7 separate regions of the Homo sapiens genome follow, and all the other regions are linked to region 3. Evidence: promoter capture Hi-C in 16 types of primary human blood cells and fetal thymus (Javierre and others, 2016). All regions are on one chromosome and are shown on one strand. The core of a region is centred on a gene start or on the middle of the fragment in contact, and the rest is flanking DNA. Distances in the headings are between cores, read along the strand shown. Region 1 has its middle 330 kb from the start of RASGEF1B. Region 2 has its middle 390 kb from the start of RASGEF1B. Region 3 holds the start of RASGEF1B (RasGEF domain family member 1B). Region 4 has its middle 410 kb from the start of RASGEF1B. Region 5 has its middle 440 kb from the start of HNRNPD. Region 6 has its middle 350 kb from the start of RASGEF1B. Region 7 has its middle 300 kb from the start of RASGEF1B.

Evidence for each region. The method cuts DNA at HindIII sites, captures the fragments that hold promoters and counts their contacts. A CHiCAGO score of 5 or more calls a contact.
Region 1: a contact is called between a fragment that was not itself captured here and the fragment with the promoter of RASGEF1B in region 3, in 3 of 17 cell types (total B cells, naive B cells and activated CD4 T cells). The highest score is 7.2, in total B cells.
Region 2: a fragment that was not itself captured here is called in contact with the fragment with the promoter of RASGEF1B in region 3 in 2 of 17 cell types (total CD8 T cells and naive CD4 T cells); the score reaches 7.3 in total CD8 T cells.
Region 4: a fragment that was not itself captured here is called in contact with the fragment with the promoter of RASGEF1B in region 3 in 11 of 17 cell types (total CD8 T cells, fetal thymus, total B cells and 8 more); the score reaches 9.7 in total CD8 T cells.
Region 5: a contact is called between a fragment that was not itself captured here and the fragment with the promoter of RASGEF1B in region 3, in 1 of 17 cell types (fetal thymus). The highest score is 5.6, in fetal thymus.
Region 6: a fragment that was not itself captured here is called in contact with the fragment with the promoter of RASGEF1B in region 3 in 16 of 17 cell types (total CD4 T cells, naive B cells, naive CD8 T cells and 13 more); the score reaches 20.0 in total CD4 T cells.
Region 7: a contact is called between a fragment that was not itself captured here and the fragment with the promoter of RASGEF1B in region 3, in 4 of 17 cell types (monocytes, activated CD4 T cells, total B cells and 1 more). The highest score is 7.1, in monocytes.

Annotation. Positions count from the first base shown.
Region 1 is chr4:81,801,330-81,804,122 of GRCh38, forward strand. No RefSeq gene overlaps it. Among named protein-coding and RNA genes, the nearest start is that of RASGEF1B, 330 kb to the left of the region's middle. The HindIII fragment of the contact is 1,819 bases long and covers 515-2,333 here.
Region 2 is chr4:81,860,421-81,863,433 of GRCh38, forward strand. No RefSeq gene overlaps it. Among named protein-coding and RNA genes, the nearest start is that of RASGEF1B, 390 kb to the left of the region's middle. The HindIII fragment of the contact is 1,926 bases long and covers 601-2,526 here.
Region 3 is chr4:81,470,445-81,473,414 of GRCh38, forward strand. It overlaps RASGEF1B (RasGEF domain family member 1B), which reads right to left and starts at 1,463. Exons shown (of 14, transcript NM_152545.3): 1 at 1,326-1,463. RefSeq lists a silencer at 1,395-1,804. The HindIII fragment of the contact is 14,883 bases long and covers 1-2,970 here.
Region 4 is chr4:81,881,070-81,884,072 of GRCh38, forward strand. No RefSeq gene overlaps it. Among named protein-coding and RNA genes, the nearest start is that of RASGEF1B, 410 kb to the left of the region's middle. The HindIII fragment of the contact is 869 bases long and covers 1,217-2,085 here.
Region 5 is chr4:81,928,424-81,931,325 of GRCh38, forward strand. No RefSeq gene overlaps it. Among named protein-coding and RNA genes, the nearest start is that of HNRNPD, 440 kb to the right of the region's middle. The HindIII fragment of the contact is 689 bases long and covers 1,287-1,975 here.
Region 6 is chr4:81,824,627-81,827,612 of GRCh38, forward strand. No RefSeq gene overlaps it. Among named protein-coding and RNA genes, the nearest start is that of RASGEF1B, 350 kb to the left of the region's middle. The HindIII fragment of the contact is 2,677 bases long and covers 102-2,778 here.
Region 7 is chr4:81,775,149-81,778,253 of GRCh38, forward strand. No RefSeq gene overlaps it. Among named protein-coding and RNA genes, the nearest start is that of RASGEF1B, 300 kb to the left of the region's middle. The HindIII fragment of the contact is 1,124 bases long and covers 728-1,851 here.

The sequences.
Region 1 (2,793 bases), core at 174-2,673, 330 kb after region 3:
CCTGAGCTGTTCTCTCCATGTGAAATGGTATTTCCTCTCCCCACCAAGTCACCCTCCACAGCACATCTTCCATACCCTTTGGGTAGTTTTTTTGCTGCAAATGTTACTTCCTTTACTGGACTGTGAGCCTCTTGCAGACAGCAATTTTGTCTTACACGTTTTTGTGTTCACAGTGCTTGGCACATGACAGGTGCTCATGAAGTTTAGGTGAATGAGTGCTGCAGAAACAAAATACATGTCCAATTGTTCTGGGAAACAAAGGACAGAAAGCAGTTTGGAGAGTGGTGGAAGTCTCTGCTGCCAAGGTAACATGTGATAGGGGCCTGCTGAAGCACTTCCTGGCAAAGTTGGAGGGAAAGGTAGAAGGAACAACATGTTGGAAGACACAGAGCAGTAAGAGATCTCAGCTAATTCAAGTGGCTTGGCACTACCAGTATTATTGCTCCTCTTTCCCCTTTACTCTAAGCTCCTAAAGCTAGCTAAGCTTTTGGTATTTGTCTACCTTACGGTGGCAAGCTTTTTTGCATAAAAGTATCCTCCCCCACAGGTGATTCAAGAAATTCAACTATTCTCCTTCTTTACCCCTAAAGCACATTTCATGACAGAATATTCTTTCTCAAATAATTTTCAGACTCATTTTTTATATCCTGCTTATCTTTGGCTGTTTCCTATGCCAGATACAGTTCTTTGTTCTGAAATGAAAAATATAGGCCTACAGATAACCTCATTCTCCCTTGCCAAGTCCTAAACCTATCTGTGAATAAATTTCTTTAAATACCACATCTTCTTCCATCTAGATGACCCATTATTTTTCCAATCTCTCTAGAAGCTAGTGTTTTGGTAAACAAAACAGAAGAATAGAAGGTTCTAAAAGTCCTGATCCAATTTCCCTTGATTAGCTCATGCATGCAATAAACGTAAGCAGAGTGTTGACAGCGTGCAAAGGAGGCTCTAGTGGGTTTACAGTTCTTTAGCATGTAAATTTTTGGCAAATGCTTCAAGGTCAGACTTTTAAATACTTTATTAACACAGCTGTGAGCATTTCCACACATTCACCCAATTTTACAGGGGCTGCTCTTCTTTTCCAATGCACATTTTGTATAACATTGTATGGCAGCAACAGGGGTTTTTCCCATTGCCTCATTATTGGAGGACAAATCTTCAGACTGAAAGTGCAAACGATACCCTTATTACTTGGAAGTCCCAAAACTGTATGTACATAGTCCTTTTGTTTATCACACGAACAAATTCCTAACCAACCCTTGCAGCTGCAGTAGCAGCAGGGGTTCAAAACAGTCTGCGTGCTGTTTCACCAGTGTTTTGCACTTTGTATTTTGTACCCTCCTATTTGTGTGCCCTACAGTCTTCAAATTAACCTAAATTACACAATCGTCAGATAAAAATTGTGCATTCACTTATTCATTCAGCAATCATTCATCTAGAGATTGCTTTGTATCCTCATGTGATTATGTTATACCTTGGTTCCCTTCATCCGTTTATTCATCATTCAACAGGCATTCATCAAAAACCTGCTCCGTTCCAGGGTCTGGTCTGAGTATGCTGGGAAGACAGAAATAAGAGTATTGCCATTCCTGCTCTTGAATAGTTAGCAGTATATAGGGTTTATCATAGTGTAATTCGTGAAGAGGGGCACTGCCTCAGCTTCTCTCATTAGAAAGGGATGAAACATCACAACAAATTTTCCCCAATTGGCTCTTTCTGCCCTGTTCTTCCCTTCACAAAACCGTAACAACTTTTTAAATCTTCCCCTCCTGTCCTCCCATAGATCTCACAGAAAGTCTTCTTTCTGCCTCCTCCTTTTTCTCCTCTTCCCCACCCTCACTGGAGGCAACCACATTAGTGCCCCTCCAGCAGATATACAGGTAACCCTCACAAAAAACTGTATATTGAGCCTAAATGCTATTACAATCATTTGCCACATAAGAAAATAGATGCTGAAATTAAGATACTTCCTCCAAACCACACAAGTCCATGATGAAACCAGATCCAAGGTCTTGATCTTGATCTTTTTACTACATCATGGTGACTCAAACATGATTTCCCTTGATCAATCAATATTAGTTTGAGAGAGCATACATAGTTACAAGTAGCTAATTTTCATAGAATCAATCTGATTTCAGTCTTTTTCTCTGGAATTGTCTATTCCTTCACATAAAGTATATATATTTTTAAAATTCTGCTACAAATAGCAATAAAACATTAAGCCAAACTGGCAGGTTTTCCTGACTGGGCCATGAATTTGCCTGGTATTCGCTGATCCCACTAGAAGGGGTTTGCAGACAAAAGGCAATTTTTTAAATGCTGAGGTAGCAAGCTTGGTTTCAAGGATGTTGAATGGGTTGTTCAATAAGTGCACTAGCTTCCTTTTTTATGAATGGAGATCAAGTTAAGAATCTATAAACACTCTGGCTCTCTCAATCCTTTCGATCCAGACATTGTTGAAATGAACATTACAGAGATAAGGAGCAATGAAAACAGAATGAATTTCCTCTACCAGCTGATTGGTGTCTGGAGGAACAAAAAGACCAAAATTTTACTTAATTCACCCTCACACTTTTCTAGAACTGGAAGTCTTGTGAGCACTGACTTTGGATAGGTTATCAGAACATCCTAGCTAGTCAAGATTAGGATTCCCAGGCTCCCTGTTTATGAAACTGGACCACTGACCATCTGAGCATATATATTTAAAAACCAAGACACCTAAAAGCTGTTTTTGGATGAAAGAGAGGGTATAAATTTTGGTGCAAGGGAGTTCAGGAGAAAAGAACAATA
Region 2 (3,013 bases), core at 314-2,813, 390 kb after region 3:
GCCCTAGCTCTTGGACAATATTTCTAGACACCCTGGCTCAGAAGGGAACCCACTGTCTTGAAGGCAAGGACTCAGTTCTGGCAGAATCCATTATCTGCTGACTAAAAAGCCCTTAAGTTCTAAATAGTCAGCGGTGGTAGGCATGGGACAGTACTCCTTATGGGCCTTGTTGGTAAGACTCAGAGCTGTGCTGGCTTCAGGTGTGTCCCAGCACACTCCCAGCTGTGATGGCTATGGGAGACGTCCCTTCACCTTGAGAAAAGAAGAAGGAAGAATAAAAGGGACTTTGTTTTGCAGCTTGGGAACCAGCTCAGCCACAGAGGAAGAGAGCACCAAGTGGGCTCCTGGGGTCCCTGATTCCAGTCCTTAGCTCCTGGACAGCATTTCTGGACCTGCCCTGGGCTAGAGGGGAACCCACTTCCCTGAAGGGAGAAACTCAGGACTGGTTCTCTGTTGGTTGGGAACAGACATGAGCCATTTTGACTGAATGTGGAGTCTCTGGACTACTGGTAAATTAGCTAGAGATTACCAACACATAGGGATGTCCCCATGCTGATATTCAGCCAGAGAAGCTTGGCACCTAAGAAGGAAAACTGACAAAGCTTTAGCCAGACTAGCAAAAAAAAAAAAAAAAAAAAAGAGAAACAATACAAAAATATAAAATCAGAGATGAAAACAGAAATATTACAACTGAAACCATAGAAATTCAAAGGATCATTAGAAGCTACTATGAGCAACTACATGCCAATAAAGTGGAAAACCTACAAGAAACATGAATTCCTAGACACATACAAACTGCTAAGATTGAACCATGAATAAATCCAAAACCTGAATAGACCAATAACAAGTAATAGACCAATATCAAAGCTGTAATAAAAAGTCTCCCAGCAAAGAAAAGTCTGGGACCCAATGACTTCATGGCTGAATGTTAGCAAACATTTAAAGAACCGACGCCAATCCTACTCAAACTATTCCAGAAAAAATAGAGTAGGAGGGAATACTCCCAAACTCGTTCTACAAGGCTAGTATTACCCTGATTAAAAAAAAAAAAATCAAAAAAAGAAAACTACAGGCCAATATCCCTGCTGAACACTGATGCAAAAAATCCTCGACAAAACACTAGCCAACAGAATTCAGTAACACATTAGAAAGATTATTCACTATGATCAAGTGGGATTTATCCCAAGGATGCAAAGATGGTTCAACATATGCAAATCAATGTGATATATCATATTGACAGAATAAAGGACAAAAACATTCATTTCAATTGATGCTGAAAAAGCATTTGATAAAATTCAACACCGCTTCCTGATAAAAAACCCTCAAAAAACTGAGTATAGAAGGAACGTACTTTAACACAATAAAAGTCATATATTACAGACCCTCTAACTAGTATCATACTGAATGGGGAAAAACTGAAAGCCCTTCCTCTAAGATCTGGAACAAGACAAGGATCCTCACTTGCATCACTGTTATTCCACACAGCTGTGAAAGCCCTGGCTAAAGCAGTCAGACAAGAAAAAGAAATAAAGTGCATTTAAATTGAAAAGGAAGAGGTCAAACTATCCTTCTTTGCAGATGAAAAATATTATATTTTGAAAAAAACTAAAGATTCCACCAAAAACTATTATACCAGGTAAAAAAAAAAAATTAGTAAAATTACAGGATACAAAATCAATGTACAAAAATCCGTAGCATTTCTATATGCCAGCAGCAAATAATCTGAAAAATAAACCAAGAAAGTAATTCCATTTACAATAGCTGTAAGTAAAATAAAATACCTAGGAATAAACTTAAAGAAGTGACAGGTCTCTACAATAAAAACCATAAAACATTGATAAAAGAAATTGAAGAGGACATACCAAATAAAGGGAAAGATATTCCATGTTCATGGATTGGAAGAAACAATATTATTAAAATGTCCATACTACCCAAAGCAATCTACAGATTCAGTGCAATTGCTATCAAAATACCAATGACATTTTTTAAGTAAATAGAAGAACGATCCTAAAATTTATATGAAACCACAAACACTCACAATAATCAAAACTATCCTGAGCAAAAAGAACAAAACTGGAGGAACCACATTACCTGACTTCAAATTATACTACAGAACTACAGTAACAAAACAGCATGGTACTGGGTGGCATAAAAACAGACATGTAGACCAATGAAACAGAATACAGAACCCAGAAATAAATCCATACATTTACAGTTGACTTATTTTGGACAAAGGTGCCAAGAACATACATTGGAAAAAGGACAGTGTCTTTAATAAATGATACAGGGAAAACTGGATATCCATATGTAGAATGAAACTAGACCCAATATCTCTCGCCATATATAAAAATCAAATCAAAATGGATTAAAGATTTAAATCTAAGACCTCAAACTATGAAGCAACTACAAGAAAACATTGGGGAAACTCTCCAGGACATTGGTCTGGGCAAAGATTTCTTGAGTAATACACCATAAGCACAGGCAACCAAAGCACAAATAGACAAATGGAATTATATCAAGTTAAAAAGCTTCTGTACAGCAAAGGAAACAATAAATAAAGAGACAACCCACAGAATGGGAGAGAATATGTGTAAACCATCCATCTGACAAGGGATTAATAACCAGAATATATAAAGAGCTCAAACAACTCCATAGAAAAAAAAATCTAATAATCCAATTTTTTTAATGGACAAAAGACCCGAATAAACATTTCTCAAAAGAAGACACATGAATGGTCAACAGGTACCTGAAAAAATGCTCAACATCATTAATCATCAGACAAATGCAAATCAAAACTACAATTACGTATCATCTCACCCTAGTTAAAATGTCTTTTATCCAAAAGACAGGATATAATGAATGCTGGTGAGAATGTGGAGAAAAGGGAATCCTTGTACACTGTTGGTGGGAATGTAAATTAGTAAAAGCACTATGGAAAAGAGTTTGGAGTTTACTCAAAAACTAAAAATAGAGCTATCTCATATGATCCAGCAATCCCACTGCTAGGTATACA
Region 3 (2,970 bases), core at 213-2,712:
CCATCTGAGTGTGACTGTGCCAGACATCATTCAAGAGTGCACCACCCTGATCCCTAGACTCTTCCCCTTTATGCACCCAGTTCAGAGACCCTCCCTTCGGCCATTAGACCATCTGAGCTAAATATAGATCTACACACACCAGCAGTTCCTGACCGTCGTCACATGGTGCTGACGAAGGACTCCTTGGAGACGCGTTCGGCCCAAACACATACACAAATTTGTGTGCATATTCATCTATATACACCATATCCACCGAATTCATCAGGGAGGATGGACACATCTACATTCCGAAGAGAAAATCGCCGTCTAGACAATCTCCTTGTGTTATCTGCCACACTTGTGCCACCCTCGGCAGTGTCAGAGGATTAAGCTACGTTGCTTTTGCCTGAACTGCGCCGATTTGGTTGGGGCAAGACAGCAAGCAGTATTGAAATGGTACGTCCATACACACACACAAAGGCGCGCGCACCCCAGCCCCCGTCTCGCCCTTTTCCCTGGTGCAGCACTTAAGTTGTTTTCACAGCTCCCTTAGAAAGAACCTCCCTTAAGCTGACTGCCCGCGAGGCTCCTAGATACCTCTAGCTCATCTGAGATTCCCCAGGCAGGTGACCCGAGGCGACTCAACTGAGCTCTGGCAAAAGCAAGGCGACTCAGTGTCTCCCAAGTTTGCCAGGTGAACACCGAAGGATGACAGCACATCACCTTGTCGGTGGCGAGTATGTGACTTCTGTTCCCTTGTCCCTTCCTACGAGTCAGACTTTAGATTACATGGCACTGACAACAAAAATAAACAGCTCCCCCTACACACACACGCACACAAAACTGGTCAAGAAGTGGAAGAATCAACCTAGGTATGCACACGAAGGAAAGAAGGGATGAAAAAAATGATGGACGCGATTACAACTCAAGACAAATCCTCAAAAACCACCTATCTCGAGACAGAAGGCCTGGCTGCAGGATCAGGGAGAAAGAGGGAAGGCACAACCCAACCCAACCCAAGCCTGGCCCTGCCCGGGTCCCAGCGGCTCGGCCTCGCACCTGTTGGGGCCGCGGCAGTCCCAGGTACCCGCAGCGGCCGGGCAGGGGCCCTCCCCCGGTCCCGGGCTGTAACTCGGCTCTTGGCGCCCGCGTTCGCGCTCACTCGCCTCGGGATCTCCCGCCGCCTCGGAGCGCACCCGGCAGCCGGTGAAGTCTCTGAGCCCCGCTCGCTCCCCGCGCGGCCCAGGGATCTCCAGGGAGAGCGCAGCGCGCAGTAGGGTCCGGAGTTCCCGCTCCGGGCTGTGGTCCCCCAGCCGGGAGAACAACCCAGCCAGGGAACAACCTACCTGCAGGTGAACTCCGAGTCCTCGGCCTCCCGGCTGCGTGCCGCGCGCCCACAAATGCGACCAAAGGACAGGGAGCTAAAGCGCGCGGGAAGAAGAAAAACAAAATCTGTCTAACCAGTCGGGTTCCTTGTTTATACTGAAACTACGGCAGCCGCCGCCGCGCACGCCCCCCTTGGCTCAGGCGCCTGCCTCCCGCTGCCAGCCCCGCCCCGCCCCGGCAGGCGCGGGCCAATCACCGCGCAGCTCACCGCCCACGCCGCCGCCACCCGGCCCGGCAGGCAAGTCCCAGTGGGCCCCAGACTCCCGCAGCGCGTCAGCCTGGGTGCCCTCCCACGCGGCAGAGGCCCGCGGAGCCCAGCGCAGCGGTGTTTAACAGCGTTGGTCAGGCTGGCTCCGACTGTGCGCGTTTCCTCTTGAGTGCACCTGCCCCGGGCTGTTGTGCAGTCGTGAGTGTGTGTGTGTTCATTCACGTGTATACTATCTGTAAATACCGGCCCGACTCGTTACACAGTATTTATTAACATAATTGTGAGCTAAAGGTTACTGTCCATGTAACTTTCAGAAGAGAGCGGAGAGGAACCACAGAACATTTGCTTAGCAAATAACACATAGATCCTGGTGCTAAGCACTGTGCAAAACGCTGGGGGCACACTTGGCAAAGTAGGCTGGTCTCTGCCATTGTGAAACTTACATAGTCTAGTGGAGGACAGACATTCAGCAAATAATCACCCAAACAAAATGTAGAATTACAGCTGCTAGAAGTTGCACGGAGAGGAACCTGTTCCGTGAAACATGATTCCGGAGGCAAAGCAGGGAGGCTAGTCCTCAGTGAGGGCTGTGTTGTCATGGTAACCACGTACTCACTCCATCATGGGATATTTGATAACTATTTCAGAAAAAAGGTAAAAACCTCCGTACTTCACTTTGTACACATAAAAGGAGGCCAGAGGGAAATAATGATGGAAACAAGGGAAGAAAGAGACCTATGAAAAGAAAAAATTTACAGAATTAGGAGACTCTTACCAACTGTATTTCCTTGAGTAAGTGATACAGCTTTTCTGAGCTTCAGTTTTCTCATATATAAAACAACACTATTCATACCTGTCCTATACTGTTATAATTAAGATTACTGAGGGGGAGGAATCCTTTTCCCTCCTGCTCCATGGGTCCCTCCCCCTCTCCTTCCTGGGGTGGAGTCATTTTGACGCTCACTTTGTCTATTCTTAGCGGATTCCTCTTTCATTTTCTTCATTTATGCCTCCTTTTACTTTTCTTCCTCTTTATGATACTCCTTCCCTCCTTTGTGTAAATAGGACTCCTCTGATTCAGTAATTCACTCTAACCTACTTGAGCCTTTGACTTAACCATAGCTTCTCTGCAGTTTAAATGAGAAGCCATAAGGCCAAGGGAACTTGGTGGGCCAGCCATGCAGAGTGAAACACAGAGGCTGGGTGGCCCTGCCCTGCTGTTGTGGTTGTACTGGTTGGTTGATTTTTCAAGCTCAGTTTTTGCATCCCGATTCTGTAACAAACGAGCCATATGACATTGGGCCAGTCACTTACACCCTTGACATTACTGATCCTGTAGCCAGAAATTAAGAGTTGCAGGGGATTGCTGGCAAGATGGCTGAATAGGAACAGCTCCA
Region 4 (3,003 bases), core at 401-2,900, 410 kb after region 3:
ACTTCAATTTTATCCATAGACTATTAAGGCTATATGACTTAATAATTTAGTTGTCAGGTATTTGTTAAATAACAAGCTTCCAACCAACACACAAAGTACTTAAAAAGAAAAGTATTTGTCTGGCAGATTTACTTTCAAATCTATTAGTCTAACTAAAAAACAAGCCTACAACTAACATACAAAAACACAGACAGTTAGTATTTATGAATTTAACATTTGTGGTTTCAAATGCAAGTGAACCTTAAAGGGCCATGTCTTGCAAAGATCAGTCAGCTTGTTGAGGATGGACTTGGTGAGTGAATCTAGCAACTGCCTAGCACACTAGCAAACTAGCATCTCTCTGCAGCTTTGTTTTTTTTCTATTTCTCATCACATACACAAAACAATTTTTACTAAATATCTGAAAGAGGGGCCAGGCATTGTGGTTCCTGCCTGTAATCCTAGCTCTTCGGACTGGGAGGCCAAGGCAGGTGGATCACTTGAGCTCAGGAGTTGAAGAGCAGCCTGGGCAACTTGGCAAAACCCTGTCTCTACAAAAAAATACAAAAAAAATTATCCGGGAGTGGGGACATGCAACTGTACTCCCAACTACTCAGGAGGCTAAGGTGGGAGGATCACCTGAGTCTGGAGAAGTCAAGGCTGCAGTGAGCCATGATTGTGCCACTGCACTCCAGCCTGGGTAACATAGTAAGACCCTGTCTCAAAATAAAATAAAGTAAAATAGGTTCATTTAATTTTTTAATCATGCTTTACCGCCCTCTGTGATCAGATTTAAATGTTACCACAGTGATAGCATATTGGGAGGTTCACAAAATTATTGGCATGTTTTCCTTATTAATGCCAAGGTATGCCTCACCTATTGACATCCAGTGAAAGCAACCCTTAACTTCACAAAGACGCCCAGTGCCAGGAGGCATTCCCACCCTCCCCAGCTCTGTCTCCACCTAGTTTCACTTGTCTTCGTCCCTGGCTATGAGCCATCTCCACTTGCATATGTGCCCTGGTTCCTACTCCCCACTCATCAAGTCTGACAAAACTCAGCTGTCTCTTTCTTGGCTTCCTAGCTCAGCCTGCAGGCCTGGTGGGATGCTGTATCATTTTGAGTCCAGTTGTAGATGACAGATACTATGATAGCTAGTTTAAGCAAAACAATATTTTATTGTCAGGTATTAAATGCTTAACACAATCACTAAAGAAAAAGGCATAAACTAAGCTAAGCTTCCAGGAACAGCTTCCATCATCATACATTCTTTCCTGTGATCTAAAAAGCTCCTCTGTCCAATGCTGAAAGTAGAACCATACCTCCTGCACCAGGACAGGAAGAACCCTGGAGCATGCAGGAAGCCAGTGAATCAGGAAGTTAGGACCTCACACCTCCCTTCTTGCTCCTCACTGGTGGTTCAAGTCCCTCACTGGTGGTTCTTAAAGGTGCAGTCACCTTACTCTATGTAGTATTTGACTCATTCTCCTGCCTAAAAGCCTCCCATGGCCCCACGTGTCTGTTGTAAATCCCTCAGGCAATCATATACAGCTTCTTTACAATCTCTATGTACCCTCTTGGCCACAGAACACTTTTCAGATCCACAAGCACCCTCCCCCTGTGTTGTATCTCCTGCCTTTTCATACTCTGTCCCTTGTCTGGAGTGGTCTCTGCTATCTTTCTTCATCCTCCAAACTCCTACTTATTCCTTCAAAAACGACTTTAAATGCCACTCCCACTGTGAAAGTACCTCAAGCTGACATGGTCAATGCTCCCCTTCACTTTCTTGCCTGCTCTTAGAACACTTAATCCATAGCGTTATACTGGGAATTCCAGACTCCAAGTATTTTCTTACACGTATGACTCCTTTATTTTACTGTGAATGGGAATCATGACTTTTAAAAGCATACCTTTTTAAATCCTAACTCTTTGGACTAACTCCACATAAAGCTATACTAAATAAATGATCAGTGTAGCAGCCAGGTTTGTGGCATTTCCAACCAGGAAAAAAAAAATCCAAATTCCTAAATAAATCAAGACAAGCTATTTCTCAGGCACACATTTTTAAAATTCAGTAAACTTTCAGAATATGCAAATGACAATAAAGCTTCACTTCAGCACATTAGAGTGACAGTTACAAGAAAATGACATAAAACTGCTCCCTGAGGAACCATCTCAAGATAGCATTAGATACTCAGGGTTGTCACTATGAAGGGTACCATCTAAGTCATATTTTTTCAGCTTTAATAACAAAGATGGGACAGTTACCAGTATTTTTCATTATCGTCTTTGCCTTCAGAACTTTATTTGGCCTGGCCCTGAAAGCAGTAAAGAATTTGTTTTGAATGTTAAGCACATGACAGCAGAGGGCTACTGGGTTTTAAGCAGATATGTACGAGGATATGGATTTGTAGTCCATGGGGCCCCACCTTCCCCAGGATATCAATGGAGCTGCTCCATCCCTGAATTTTCCTTTGTGAGCAATAGCCCTATCCCAGGTCCTCAACACAGGATGAGCTGCTTGCTCAAGATCCATTCAGTCTCAGAGTCTGTCTCCGATGCTGGGGCCCATCAGAGCTTTTAGAGTCCATGAGAACCCTGAGGCAGGTGGGAGAAGTCAGGGCACTTCCACACAATTAATATTGTTGGAGTTTCCCCAGGCATATAGTATTGTAGGGAAGTGAGACAGTCATGTTACTCTGCATACTTATAGGAACAACTCTGGGTCAAATTAAGGTCCAAGCAAAGTCCATTGCCAGTTCTGCAGGGCAGAAAATCATTCGTCATCGCCAGTAAAAAATTTTCCACTTTCTGGCTTCTGCATGTATTCAGCTAGTCAAGTGTCAGCACAGAGCCCCGAAGTCACATGCTTTGCGGCTTACATTGTGACAACTGCATTTCTAAGCCTATGGTTGCAGGCAAGACAACATTTGTAATTGTCTTGTTGGTTCAGGGTAAAACAAATACACATTTAGATCACAACAGATAAATGCTTCCTCTGAATTAATCACACAAGGGAGGGC
Region 5 (2,902 bases), core at 381-2,880, 460 kb after region 3:
ATGGAGGAATACGGAGAAGAAACAGAATTTTGCAACTCAAAAATAACCTTGTAAACAGTGAAGAGCCTGCTTTCCTCCAAAGAAGAATCTAAAATTTGAGTTTAAAACATTAGTTGGAGAATTTGAGTAGCAAAAAATAGACCCTATGTTTTCTCAAAATGTTAGAAGACATAAAGGCTATGGCCAGTATTTCCACGCTCTCACTATGTTAGTCCCTCCTTCCAACTCTCAGTATAATGGAAAGAAATACACAGAAAGCCTAGACTTTGAAAGTATCTAGTAAAAGCCACTCTGTTCTTTACAAGAGGTTCTTTTCCTAAGTCAGAGTAGACCTATTACTTCACAAGAAAGTCTTAGAGACCCAGAAGTAAAATGAATTCCTCTTACTGTGAAGTATATCCCTTCCACACTACCTACTCTGTTATAGAACTTCAAATTGGATTTCTCCAATCATAAGTCTCAGTGTCAAGAGACCTCCACTCCTACTCAAAAGGCAATTTCTGAGAGTCTGATGTATGACTACCACTCCCTCCAAATTCTGTTTGTTAGTCTGTTCCAAAGGCCTAAAAGATGATTCTACTTTTCCTGGATTAAAAATACTTTGACTTGGTTGTAGGGTCATAACTCTCCCTTATCCCCATCTAAGACCTAGGCTCTTAGAGGAATTGTAGCCACTAACCAGAAATTTCCCCAATTGTATATTTAAATGCTCCCTTTTCCCAGATATCCCACTTGGTACTTCTATGACATCACTGTAGACAGGTTATAAGTTTAATGATTCTACTGACTCTGTGAAGTGTTGATGTTCACTTCACTTTTAGGTATCATAGGGGCTGCTTCCACATACAAACACTTAAATGCTTAAACTGGAATTTCACTAACACATGTTGCTGAGTCAGAGACTTGTCTTTAAATACAAGCTCTACCACATTTCTGTTTATATGTCCTTAACTATGCTACATAGGCTTTTGTTTTGTTTTTTGTTTTTGTTTTTGTTTTGAGATGGAGTCTCGCTCTGTCACCCAGGCTGGAGTGCAGTGGCGCAATCTCAGTTCACTGCAACCTCCACCTCCCGGGTTCAAGCAATTCTCTGCCTCAGCCTCCTGAGTAGCTGGGATTACAGGTGCCCACCACCACGCCCAGCTAATTTTTGTATTTTTAGTAGAAACGGGGTTTCACCATCTTGGCCAGGCTGGTCTTGAACTCCTGACCTCATGATCCACCCAACTTGGCCTCCCAAAGTGCTGGGATTGCAGGCATGAACCACCACTCCTGGCTGCTACATAAGCTTTCTAAGCCTTGGTTTCTTTGGCTATGAAATGGGAGTACTAATAATAGCTACTTTAGAGGGTTTCCATAAGGTTAAATGAGAAAATGTCATAAACCACTTAGGACAATTTCTGGCATAATAAAAACAGACAAGAAAGTATAGTGTTACAGTGGTGATAGTAGTGGTGGTGGTGGCAGCAGTGGTTAGCTAAGGTGTAATTTTTCATGTGCCCTCGTGTTGTTTCTTCAACCAGTTCTTGAAGACACAAGGTTCCACAACCATAACTCATCCTAGGTTACCTTCATTTAAGAATACATCAAAATACAGCAAGATGCTCTGATGTGGCTCAGTAGCTTGCTTTATGTGTGCTATGTCCAAAACGACAGAAATGCTGTCCCAAGACATTAGTTTATTTTGTATAATTTAATGTTGCATTGTGAAAACATCTTATACCTTTCTTTGTTCTGTATTTGATTTATCTGTTCCCTCCGCAACTGTCAATTAAATTTTCTAAATTACTATCAATAGGCATATGAAAATCCACACAGCTTTACAGGGCACAGACCCATACAAGCATTTTGCAAGACTCTGGAGTACTTGGGCTGCCACTCCTGCCATGGCCAAACAAAAAGATTTGGGAGAGGTACATGCATCAGGGGCACAGAAACAAGAGAAGTAACCATGAAGGACCTTGCATTAGGTACAAGCTTCACTAGATACACAACTTATCTCCAGTAAGATAAAAAAGAACAAGGTTTTAGATAATTATTTTTGCAGCATATGCAACCGCCTGACACATTTCAAAAAAGCCCTAAATTAACTGGAAGCATAAATGAATTCTCAAGAGAAAAATTATTTCATTTCTAAGAAAGTATTCACTAATTGGACAGGTAGCTGTGGTTTATTAATATGGTGAGTATTTGGAAGCCGTCTCCTTTTCACACAATTTTGACACATTACTTTGGGGGTTTTTGTTTGTTTGCTTGTTTTTGTGGTTTTTTTGGTTTTGGTTTTGGTTTTTTTGTTTGTTTGTTTTTGCTTCATACTTACCTATGACCTCAATACAAGTTTCATTGTGTGATGCTAAACTCTTCCAATGGCACCAAAATGTTACAATGCTACTCGACAATCATATAGATATATTTTCACCAAAAGTAGAGCATTGTGTAACCACTAATGAATTTACTGTATTTATGGAAGAAAAGCCTACTGATTACTACCCACAGTTGAACAGAAACTTCCTACTTTGGTAAACTAATACTTACTTTCAGAATTGTTTCTGACTCATTGTTACTACAGTGGAAAAAGTGAGATTGAGGTGGTCAAACAGTTTCCCCACCATTTTGGGTTCCCTGGCAGGAGACCTGCCCTGCCTCAACCAATGGAAAACATCATGAGTGCCTGAAAGGAGAAAAACTTCTGAGGACAGCCAGAGACCAAGACAGGGAGGTGGGACTAGCATCGCCAGCCCAGAAAATGCTGCTCTGTGTCTGGACCAAATGACACATCACATCAGAGTGGCTGTTCAGCAGCACACTGTAGGGCATTCATTCAACGGATTCTCTGGGTATGAACACCTACCTATCCTTCCCACACTGTAGGGATATCACTTTTGGGACCTCCCCTATCCAG
Region 6 (2,986 bases), core at 190-2,689, 350 kb after region 3:
ACCATTCCATGTTCATTTCCAATCCAAGGTAGGCACTACCTAACTGTGTCCCCTACTGATTTCTGTGAATTTTAAAATGTGTCTGCCTTCACTATTCCCAAAGCTTCTCTACCCAAGCTGGAACGTTCATTATGGGCCAAGAACCATTCAGTGAGGTAAGGATTCTGTTATCTTCATTTTACAAACAAGGTAACGAACGCACAATTAGGTTAATTGCTATATACCTTGGACATAGTTAGGTCAGGAAGCAAAGCCATCTAACTCCAGAACCCACCTCCAAACACATATGATCTTCTGTCTTAAAGAGATATGTGCATAATGTTAGAGTCAGCTATGCCCAATCTTTCAAATGACAGCTGTTATGAGCCCAAGTGGGAGAATGGAGCTTCTGCCTATGTAAGAGATTTGTGAGTCTGAACAATACCAGGGCTTGCTATCTCCTTTCTACTATCTTTAATGCACTCACTCTCCCTGTAGTTGACCTCTCACACATTTGTATGTATACTTGCTTGGCCTGATGAACCACTCAAAAGGCACTGCAACATTCAAGGCTATATTGGGATTTACATGCAAGTATGTTCCCTTTGGACAATCCTATGAATAAATACATAGCCATGGTCAGCCATACAAACAGTATTGAGATTTTTTTCAGTAAACTTTTTTACATTTTCTTTAATTATAAAACTAATATTTATTCTTAATGAGTTAGTCTCTTTTATACCCTATCCTCCTGAGGTAACCCATAATACAAATTTGTATTCATCTTTCCACACTTTCTCTATTCCCACGCAAATATGTCTGCGCATATTATATAGAAGTCTCGTTCTTATGATCATACCATCTTAATTAAGAATATATTATCAACATCTTTCCAGTTCAGCCCATGCAGATTAATTCATTCTTCTTAATACCTATATAACATGTCATAATATGAATATATCATAATTTTATGCTTTCCTTTATTGATCAACAGGTTTTGGTTCTTTCATTGTTGTTGCTTCTTGTTTTCTTTTGTTTGCTATTACAAAGTATGCTGCAATAAACATGCTTGTATATGGCTGGAAAATCTAGTGTATATAAACTGTCTCCTACTCTCTGCTCTTTTAACATCATAAAAATATTTACCACCTCACCTAAGGTTTTGGTTTGCTTTGCTTTCTGTTTGTTTGTTTGTCTGTTTTGCAATAAGCATGTGAGAAAGCTAAGGATCTAAGTCAGCACATATTCTGGGTCAAAACAACATGCAGTATTAAAGGACAGAAAAGACAGAATGTGAATACACATACAAAAGTGCATCTTTAATTTAAAAAATTAAGTTCAAGGTTTAGGTTAGATATAATCTCCAAGTTTGGTTTGCTGGCCATTTTTATTTCATTTGAGAGGGAAGGAATAAATGTTACTGGGAAAGTTTGAATTAAAAAGGGAAAACTGAAAGAAGGGAAGAATTCTGGTGGCAGAAGAAAAGAGGAAAGGCAAAAGACAAAAAGAAGGACAAAATGAAAAGTTCACAAAAAACAGGCACAAAAAGCAGAATTGTCAAAAAATTAAAAAAGAAGAAAATGGTTTCCATAGAGAAGCAGTCATCTTCACTCAAGGAGAATAAGGGCACATGATGCATTCTAGTTACCAGGATCTATCCTGTTGACCTAATTTCAGCCCTGAAACACAGTAGCAGGTGGTGAAAGGACAGGTATAGCCCTGCAAATTTCATGTCCTCTTGCTCTTTGTGCTGCCAGGTATATCTTAGTTTCTCTCATTTCTGTATTACAATGGGGATGTAAGAAATAGTATTCTTGCTGTCTGTTCAAAGATTAGGGCAGGACAGAGAGAAAAGCCAAAGAACCAGGCAGCATTCCACATGCTACCGTGAACTACCCCACCCACAATCTTCCCATCAGATGTTTTCCTCATGACTTGTCATCATCTTTACTCATTTGTACACATGAGCACTGTGCCATGAGAGAGGCCTCAGTGTTGATTCCCAGATTTCTGCTCCAAGAATGTAAAGACCCACTGAAACTTGGTCATTGCAGTAGTCCCATTACTAGCCCAGTGCTTGGCACAAAGAAGATAACCAATAAATATGAACTGAGTAGATGCAAAAGAAAATAACATCTGGCAAAACTGCAGTCCTTATCCCAAAACATTTCTTTGGAAGCACTGTGCTGGAAAAGCAGCCTCACAGGAAACACTATTATAAAGTGAAGCTCAGGGATATAAGAAAGAAGAGAGATAAAAGACTTCTAAATAATGGTAAAATACACCTTATATTTAGCGTAAAGCTGTTGTCTATTATCTGCTTGGTTTGGCTAAACCAGGCTTTTTCAGTGAAGACCCTGTAAATGTTTTTGGACTAGATAACTCTTTGTTTTGAGGGCACGTGGGGACACACTGTGCACTGTAGGGGGTTCTGTAGCATGTGTGGCCTCTACCCACCAGATGCTACTGACAATCTCCACCTACCTCAGTCATGACAAACAAAAATGTCTCCAGACATTGCTAAATGTTCTCTAGCGGGAAAAACTGCCCACATTTGAGAAAACTGGTCTAAACCCTAAAGGGGCTAGTTATAGAAATGATCCTGATTCCCTGGCTGATGCAACTAAAATTTTTTCCAGGAAATGCAAGTCTAGCGGTGAAAATTTCTCTGCTCAACCCTGAATTCAAGTTTCATTCTCCGTCTGAAATGGGACTCAGAACATAGGGAGGACCCACTCTCCAGCTACTGAAGAGTCCATGTGGGGGCAACTCAAGAGACCATAACTGCATTTTTAAGTAAGCTTTAAGATGCACGAGCACTGCCACCCTAGGGAGAGTAAATTAAGGAACATGTCTAAGAATTCAGACATTAGTGCCATAGCCCCAGGGGAAATGATCTTCAATTAAACAATACCAGTCAACCTTTGAGGGCAGTCTCAAGTGACCAAAGAAACATGTTTGGAGGGAAATTTAGAGTCAGAGATGGGTGAAATTAGCTTCAGTAAAA
Region 7 (3,105 bases), core at 40-2,539, 300 kb after region 3:
CAGAAAAACCAATTTCTCCTGAGGCTATGGGCAAGCTAGTGGAATCCCAACAGATTCAGCAATAATGTCAATAACAACAACAAAAAGCCCAGGTCTTTCTCCTAGGCTGTCATTTTTCCATCAAAATTAACAGCATGGTTATCAAATTTTAAACTTTTTAAATGGAAGCAACTCTGATCTCATTAGGTCTGTACTTCCTCTCAAGAGTCCATATCCCCTAGTAGGACATAAGCTCACTGATGATACTTTGATTCCTTTTTATGGAAACCTCGTCCGCCTGAAATCCAGCCCATCTGTGGCTTTTTTGAGGAACCTTCTCACAATGGCTGTACTAGTTTACATTCCCACCAACCGTGTGTAAGAGCTGCCTCGTCTCCCCATCCTTGCCAGAACTTGTTAATTTTTGTTTTTTTGATAATAGCCATCCTCAGCTGGAGTCAGATAATAACTCACTGTGGTTTTCATTTGCATTTCCCTGATGATTAGTGGATATTGATAATTTTTTTCATACATTTGTTGGCCATTTGTATGTCTTCTTTTGAGAAGTGTCTGTTCAGATCATTTTCCCATTTTTTAATCAAGCTGTTTGGGTTTTTGCTGTTGAGATGTTTGAGTTCCTAGTATATCCTGGATATTAATCCCCTGTTGGATGAATAGTTTACAAATATTTTCTCCCATTCCATAGGTTGCCTTTTCACTCCATTGATTATTTACTTTGCTGTACAGAAGCTTTCCCATTACTGAGCGTTTCTCTAAAGAAAAGGAAGAAATCGGTACATCAAAGAGATATCTGCACCCCCATGTTTACTGCAATACTATTCACAATAGCCAACATATGGAATCAACCTAGCTGTCCAAGAATAGATAAATGATAAAGAAAATGTAGTATACATATACCGGGAAATACTATTCATCCATTAAAAAGAGTGAAATGCTGTCATTTGTAGCAACATGGATAGAAGTGGCAGACATTTTGCTAAGTGAAACAAACCAAGAACAGAAAGTTAAACACCACATGCTCTCATTCATATGTAAAAGCTAAAAAAGGTTGATCACATAGAAGTAAAAAGAACAGAGGATACTAGAGTCTGGGAAGGGTAGGGAGAGGGTGAGGATGGGTAGAGATTTGTTAAAGGATACAAAACTACAGCCAGATAGGAGGAATAAGTTCTAGTGTTTTATAGCACTGTGAGATGACTACAGTTAACACTAACATATTATATAGTTTCAAATAGCTAGAAGCAGATACTGAATGTTCCCAAAACAAAGAAATAATACATGTGCCAGGTGATGAAATCCAGGGTAATATGCTAATTACCCTGGTGGATCACTATTCATTATAGGTATTGAAGCATGACTATTTACCCCATAAAATTTTTTGTGTCAATTTAAAAATAAAAATTAAAATCCCATCAATTGGAAACAAGAAATATTTGTTGGACAAATGTGAAAGAAATGAACAAAGGCAAAAGAGAGCTAGTTGGGTTAAGGGGGTTGCTGATATCAAAACTTAAACTTGTGTGTCAAACTTTCAAATAAAAATTAACAAAATAAATCTATATGAGGATGTATATACATATGCATACATATTTTTTTCTGCCTCACCACTTTCCCAAAACTGTATGAGGCACAGCAAAAGTAAGGAAAAATAAATTACTAAAATAAGATTTTTAATTGGAAAGAAAAGGAAAAAGTAAATATCCAAAATATAACAATGAGTCAGGTGGTTGTGATTGAGTGAAAAGACCAACTACAATCTTCCTGACAAACCAGACTAAGGAAAATGTGATAAGTTGTGTAAGACATTTTGATATGAGAAGAGGAAATCCACTACTTTCCCAAGGGAGATAAAGCTTTTCCTAGAACCAAGCTCTGATAAAAATTTCCAATGCAAGGAAGGAGCAGGGATCACTCAATGACATAATGACAACATGTTTACAATTTCAGAGCAAGTACAGAAACAACTGAAAAGAGATACCTGGTGAGGTTTAAGCAAAACTTAAAGTAGTCACCTTACATACCACAAAAATTTTCTACAATCAATTATTCCAGACAGGTTCACATAGCTTGTTCCACAAATAAGTACATAGAATCAGAAGTTGATAAAGAAGACAACACCACAATCTTACATAGATTTTCACAGGGTTTTTTCCTATGACATAAAAAGTATAATAATGGCCAAAATAACAATTTAAACAAATGTAAATTTATGAGAATTTACTACATACCTGGTTCTTACATAAGTCCTTTACAAATATTACTCATTAGCATTTGCAACAATACTATCTAAGCACTATCATCTGTTGTTTACTGAGAAAGAAACAGAATCAGAAAGGTAAAGAAACTTTGTCCAAGAAACTTGTCACATAGCAAAGTCAGAATTAAATCATAGGATTCTCTGACTTTTAAGTAGTATAATCTTTTTTTATTTTATTTTAAGTTCTGGGATACATGTGCAGAACATGGAGGTTTGTTACATAGGTATACATGTGCCATGGTGGTTTGCTGCTCCTATCAACCCGTCATCTAGGTTTTAAGCCCTGTATGTGTTAGCTATTTGTCCTGATGCTCTCCCTCCCCTTTCACTCCACCTCCCCCGGACAGGCCCAGGTATGTGTTTTTCCCCTCCCTGTGTCCATGTGTTCTAATTGTTCAGCTCCCACTTATGAGTAAGAACATGTGATGTTTGGTTTCCTGTTCCCGTATTAGTTTGCTGAGGATGATGGCTTCCAGCTTCATCCATGTCCCTGCAAAGAACATTAACTCATTCCTTTTTTATGGCTGCATAGTATTCCATGGTATATGTGCCACACTTCTTTATTCATTCTATCATTGATGGGCATTTGGGTTTGTTCCATGTCTTTGCTATTGTAAATAGTACTGCCATAAATATACGTGTGCATTTATCTTTAGAGTAGAATGATTTATATTCCTTTGGGTATATACCCAGTAATGGGAATGCTGGGTCAAATGATATTTCTGGTCCTAGATCCTTGAGGAATTGCCACACTGTCTTCCACAATGGTTGAACTAACTTACATTGCCACCAATGATATAAAAATGTTCCTATTTTTCCACAGCCTCACCAGTATCTGTTGTTTCTTG